Regions from separate parts of the Homo sapiens genome. Here region 2 is linked to region 1. The links are contacts of gene promoters, found by promoter capture Hi-C in human tissues and cell types (Jung and others, 2019). All regions are on one chromosome and are shown on one strand. Each heading gives the region's core, a stretch centred on a gene start or on the middle of the fragment in contact. The rest is flanking DNA. Distances are from core to core; before and after follow the strand shown.

Region 1 (2,960 bases), core at 29-2,528:
TCCCAATAATCAGGATGCTCCCCAAACATCTTAGGCCTGTCCTTCAGAAATCTACAACCGGCAACTGTCACCTGCTTGTTCTCTTCATTTACACTTCCAGCTTGTAACTATCCCCTGGGCATGACAAGGGCTAGAGGTCAGTACCTCTGGAAGTTAAGATTCCTTCACTTCTCCTGTTTCCACACTAAGCATCAAGGGATGCCCTCTGGTTCTAGCTTGCCAGAACTTGGTGGTGAGTCTGTGTCCATCCTATCCGTAATCACCACGGTCTCAGACCAAGTCACATGTTCCGTGTGTGTCCCTGTGAAATCTGCGATGACACAAATTAAAGACACCACCATGGATGTTCTGTAATACTGGAAAGAGGGTACCCTAGGGAGAAGGAGAGGCAGAACACTGCAGGGCAGAGGGTCCAGGGAATGGGAGGAGAGACACGGTAGGTGGAGGGGTAAACAAGGCACCGGGTGGGGGTGCCGCGGTGAAGGACACCTGGCACTAGGGAAGACAAGGCACCTCAGGGGAGCAGGGCATCCTCACGCCTGAGCTTCAGTATGTCCAGTTTGGAAAGGGGTGTCCCCATCAAAACTGGCAGCTGGGGGCTGGCCGCTCAGCGTCGTTCAGCCCAGGAGCGGAACAGCTCCTCCGCGAGCAGGTGACGGCCTCAGACGGCCCCCACATCGCCGTGCTGGTGGGCACGTAAGTAGGAGCGGAGGGGCGTACCATGTAGGTGAGACTGCCTGGCCCCAAAGCTAGGAACGATCAGGTTGGAGCGAAGGCCCGGCCAGCCTTCATCGCTCAGGAGAACCCCGAGCGCCGCTTACACCCCTCGGCCAGCCTCCAACAAAGACTCAGGGGAGGGCTGGATGACCCTGACGCCCACGGGGCCGAGCCTGCCCAAGACCACGACGCACGCGTGGCAGGTGCCGGCAGGTGGGCGGCAGAGCCTCTAGCCCCAGCCCAGCTGTGAACCCTACCGTGGCGCCGCAGCGGAACCGGGGCGCCCCGGGCGACCAGCTACACCTGCCTGCCCGCCCGCACCTGCCGGCCCGCACCTGCCGCACCTGCCTGCCCCCGCCGGCCCACACCTGCCTGCTGGCGGCGTTGCCAGGGGCCACCCCCAGGACCCCGCTCACCTCCGCCCGGCCTGGCCCGGCCCCTCGCCGTGGCGGCCCCCGGCCCGCGCCGCTCCATGCGCTCAGCCCGCCCTCCGCGCCGCCCGCCGCCCCGGGGCCGCCGCCACCCGCGCCATCGCGCCGCCGCCCGCTCCGAGGGCACAATGGAGCCGCCGCCGCGCCGCTCATGCATATGCATGACGCCGCGCAGCCGGCCCCGCCTCCCAGGCCAGAGCAGCAGAGCCCCGAGCCGGCGCTCGGGGCGGGGGCGGCCGCGAGCCCGAGCGGCCCAAAGCGGCAGGGTGGGGCCAGGGCCGCAGGTGGCTGGGCGGGCAGGAGACGCAGCCTGATCGCGACCTGCGCCCCCAGCCCCCTCCACACCTTTCTGAACGCGGCGTCGGCAGAGCCACTGCGCTCTTCCTGCTCGCAGTCCGCCGGGAGCGGGGCGGGGCCGGGCGGCGGAGGCGGGGCCAGGACGCCGGGGCGGGGCCGAGTGGAAGGCGGGGCCAAGGTGCCGGGGCGGGGTCGGGAGGAGGAGGCGGATCCAGAGAGCCGGGGTGGGGCCAGGGCTCGGGGCGGGCCCCGGCGGAGGAGGAAAGGAAGAGTGAGTCCTTGCCCTTCCCCCACCCGCCCCGCCCGCGCCCCGCCCGCGCCCCCCCTGCTTCCTGGGAGTCCATTGCTCTGGCCCGGCGGGCGGGGACACGACTGGGAGACAGAGAGACCCAGGGTGCCACTTTTGGGAGGGGATCTTATTAAAGGACTCCGGAAGCCCCTCGTTAAAGCAGAAAACTAAACTTAACAAGTTCGCTGTCCTCACTGCTCAGTTCTCTCTTCCCAGTGGTTCTCCTTCTGGAAAAAGTCACTATTGAGCTAGTCTAGCCTGATGGAATAGCCTCTCTGATCAGTTTCGATCTTTGAAATGCTATTATCAGCCTTTAAGTTATTCTTGACTTTTCCTACCGTAAGTTGAGGAAGACCACATTCTCTCAACTACCCATAATTAATTTTTCTTAATTGTGGTAAAATACACATAACGTAAAACTTACCATCTTAACTGTTTCCAAGTGTAGTTCTGTGGCACCAAGTACATTCACATTCTTGTGCAACCACCAACCGTCTCCAGGACTTTTTCATCTTCTCAAATGGAAACTCCATACCCAGTAAACACTAGCTCCCCATTCTTTCCTCCTCCTAGCCTTTGGCATTCACTATTCGTCTCTAAATTAGACTACTCTAAGGACATCGTATAAGTGGAATCATACATTATATGTCTTTTTGTGACAGTCTTACTTTAGTTAGCACAGTGTCCTCACTTCCATCCATGTTGTGGCATGTGTCAGAATTTCTTTCTTTCTTTCTTTCTTTCTTTCTTTCTTTCTTTCTTTCTTTCTTTCCTTTCTCTCTCTCTTTCTTTCTTTCTTTCTTTCCTTCCTTCTTTCCTTCCTTCTTCCCTCCCCTTCCCTTCCCTTCTTTTTTTTGACGGAGTCTCACTCTGTCGCCAGGCTGGAGTGCAGTGGTGCAATCTCGGCTCACTGCAACCTCCACCTCCCAGGTTCAAGCGATTCCCCTGCCTCAGCCTCCTGAGTAGCTGAGACTACAGGGGCACGCCACCACGCCTGGCTAATTTTTTTGTGTGTGTGTTTTAGTAGAGACGGGGTTCATCATGTTGGCCAGGATGGAATCGATCTCCTGACCTCGTGATCCGCCTGCCTGGGCCTCCCAAAGTGTTGGGATTACAGGCGTGAGCCACGGCGCCCAGCCCCTTCTTTCTTATGGCTGAATAATATTCCATTGTATGCATATTCCACATTTAAGTTATCCATTCATCTATCAATGGATACTCCACAA
Region 2 (3,350 bases), core at 260-2,759, 1.0 Mb before region 1:
GTTAAGGGTCTTTGGCTGTTGGGGTTGATGTACTCACCCAGATCCTTATAAGAGCAGAGCAGGTGATGGAGAGGGTGGGAGGTGTAGTGACAGAAGCAGGAAACTCCAGTCATTCGAGACGGGCAGCACAAGCTGAGGAGTGCAGGCCACCTCCACGGCCAGGAAACAGATTCTCCCACAGAGCCTCAGAAGCCACCGACCCTGCTCCCACCTTGACTCAGTAGGACTTACTGTAGAATTCTGGCCTTCAGACCTGTAAGGGAATACATTTTGGTTGTTTTAAGTTACTAAGTGTGTGGTAATTTGTTGCAGCAGCCACAGGAAACTAGTATTGTAGTGAAGCCTCAAAACCCCCTGAAGGGGCTGGGCTCAGTGGCTCATGCCTGTAATCCCAGCACTTTGGGAGGCCGAAGTTGGTGGATCACTTGAGGTCAGGAGTTCGAGACCAGCCTGGCCAACATGGCGAAATGCCATCTATACAAAAAATAGCCGGGCATGGTGGCACATGCCTGTAATCTCAGCTACTCAGGAGGCTGAGACAGGAGAATTGTTTGAACTCAGGGGGGCGGAGGTTGCAGTGAACTGAGATTCCACTACTGCACTCCAGCCTGGGTGACAGAGCGGTGCTCCATCTCGAAAACAAAACAAAACAAAAAAACCCCACCTGAAGGTTTCCAGTTCTGCCAGCAGTCTCCCACCCAACCCCTAGAAGCAGACATTCCATTGCTGTGGGCCATGGACAGGCAGAAGGAAGCGCCTCCTCATGGCAGAGGCCTACCCAGGAGAAACCCAAGGGAAGGCACTGCCGGGCTGGCCCCTCTCTGCCAAGGCCATATTCTTTTTTTTTTTTTTTTTTTTTTGAGGCCTAGTTTCACTCTGTCTCCCAGACTGGAGTGCAGGGACACAATCTCGGCTCACTTCGACCTCCGCCTCCCCAGTTCAAGTGATTCTCCTGCCTCAGCCTCCTGAGTAGCTGGGATTACAGGAGTGTAGCATGCCTAGCTAATTTTTGTATTTCTAGTAGAGATGGGGTTTTGCCATGTTGCCCAGGCTGGACTCGAACTCCTTGCCTCAAGTAGTCCACCTGTCTCAGCCCCCCAAAGTGCTGGGATTACAGGAGTGAGCCACTGCACCCAGCATTTGCCAAGACCTTTGATGGCAGGCTTTTTCCAGGTGATCAGTCCTTGTCTGGTCTGGCTCTGCCCCACTCTCCTTCTCACCTAGTTGGAATCCCTAGCTACTTTTCAGCAGAGGAGAGTGTGTACCCCAGTCCCAGCTTGGTTCAGATCTGCATTTAACTCATGGAACCTGGCTGCTCCCCAGGTCCTGAAGAAAAAAAGGGGTCTCTCTGTGGGTATGATAAAGGATGGGCCTGTCCCCAGGACCCTGTGAGAGGGAAGCCCAATGTCCCACCAGGTTGGCAGGGCTGGGGAAGGGAGTGTTATGGTAGCCCCAAGAAAAAAAAAGGGCAGCAGAGGGAGCAGGACAGTGCTCACATGGAACTCTTGCCACTGCCTGAGTGAGGGGAGGGAGGAGTGCACGCCAGCGACGTCAGGGGGCAGAGAGGCGCAGTTCCAGGGCGGCTTTCCCCCTCACTTCCTGCCATGTTGCTCTGATCGCCTCCAGGTGAGCCTGCCCACTTTGTGCCCAGGAGCCTGTAGAAAACCACAGCTCCCCATGGTTATGGCCCCAGGAGTGGGGCAGAGCAGGGAGGAGTCCTGGACAGAGGAGAGGCAGGGGCAGGAGGGAGTGGGCCTCAAACTCCAGGAGTGGGCCCTTCTCATGGGTCCTGCTTTCTGGCTTCTCCTTCCTTACCCCTGGGCTGATCACTCGGGGAAGAACTGAGACAAAGTTTCTCACCCTCAGGCCCAAGGGGTTTAATTACTGGCCCCTTAGGGAGGTGTGAGCCCCCTGAAAGGATGCAAGGCTTTGTTTTGTTTTGTTTTTTGAGACAGAGTTTCGCTCCTGTCGCCCAGGCTGGAGTGCAGTGGCGTGATCTCACCACACTACAACCTGCGCCTCCCGGGTTCAAGTGATTCTCCTGCCTCAGCCTCCGGAGTAGCTGGGATTACAGGTGGCTGCCACCACACCTGGCTAATTTTTTGTATTTTTAGTAGAGACAGGGTTTCGTCATGTTGGGCAGGCTGGTCTTGAACTCCTGACCTCAGGTGATCCGAATGGCTCTGCCTCCCAAAGTTCTGGGATTACATGAGCCACTGTGCTTGGCCACAATGAAAGGTTTTGTGTGGAGAGCACATACATGCCTTTCTGGGAAAACAGTCCACAGCTCTTATTCTCAGCAGACTTCACGGTCAAAAAAGTTTAGAACTCTTGCTACAGAGCTGTGGAAGCAGCTAGGTGAGGGGCCTGCCAAGGGCACTCTGGGCACTACCTGGGCACTCTCGAGCCCATCATCCCCTAGGCAGGCTGCGCTGCTTGGTATTTGCAGAGCTGAGGGGGTGGGGCATGTGGGGACTGTGAAATCGCCCTGAGATGACCCACAGTCCTCAGCTGGGAAGTGAGCGGTGCATCTCCTGCAGTGTCCTCCATCCCTAGAGCCATGGGGCCAGGAGAACCGGCCCTTGCAGCAAGTGAAAAGCCTATTATTGACTCCCTCCCTAGCCATGTAGACAATGAACCAAGACACTCATATCAGGTAAATGCCTTGGTCTCTGTCACCGAGGTGACCAGTAGGCATTCCCAGATACAGTGAAGGTCCTCACACCAAGATATGCACCTGGCCACCTGAGGAAAGAGAGAGGACTATCTGAGGGGATGGGGCTGAGCTGGGTGTGGAGTGGTCCTTGTGGGTCTTGGTGAGTGGGAAGGGGAGCAGCATGAGCCAGGCCTCAAGGCAGAAGGACAACCAGGAGACAGCCTGGAAAAAGTGCTGGACCCACAACGGCTCGAGGCTGGCCAGAGGGGAGGTGGGATAGGCTGCAAAGTCCTGAGGTCTGAAGATTGGCCCTGGCAGGAAGAAACCAGGTAAGGTGGGGTGTTACCTACACCCTCGGGGCTAGATGCAGGCCAGAGCCAGCCAATTACCAGGCCCTTAGGGAGGTGTGAGCCCCTTGAAATGATGCAAGGTTTTTTGTTTTTGTTTTGGAGACGGAGTTTCGCTCTTGTCGCACAGGCTGGCACCTTTGCCCAGAGCAGGCACCAAGATTTCTGGCTCTGGGTGTGACCTCAGTCTGGGGAAAAGCCCCAGCCCCCACCAGGACCACCTACCCCCTAGACTACTTCAGGTGCTGAGCCCAAGCCAGGGACAGGAAGCTAAACTGATGCCTAGGGTAATCCCAACAAAGTCCCTGGTTCCCCGCAGCTATGGGGCTGACGGGGAATTACAGCCC

What was found. The method cuts DNA at HindIII sites, captures the fragments that hold promoters and counts their contacts. A contact is called where the count stands out against the background at its distance.
Region 2: a contact is called between a fragment that was not itself captured here and the fragment with the promoter of ZMIZ2 in region 1, in 1 of the 25 tissues and cell types used here (dorsolateral prefrontal cortex).

Annotation. Positions count from the first base shown.
Region 1 is chr7:44,747,165-44,750,124 of GRCh38, reverse strand. ZMIZ2 (zinc finger MIZ-type containing 2) reads right to left here and starts at 1,278. Exons shown (of 19, transcript NM_031449.4): 1 at 1,134-1,278. RefSeq lists silencers at 974-1,023, 1,034-1,143, 1,254-1,783. The HindIII fragment of the contact is 31,122 bases long and covers 1-2,960 here.
Region 2 is chr7:45,775,090-45,778,439 of GRCh38, reverse strand. It overlaps the pseudogene GTF2IP13. Among named protein-coding and RNA genes, the nearest start is that of CCDC201, 96 kb to the left of the region's middle. The HindIII fragment of the contact is 6,550 bases long and covers 1-3,350 here.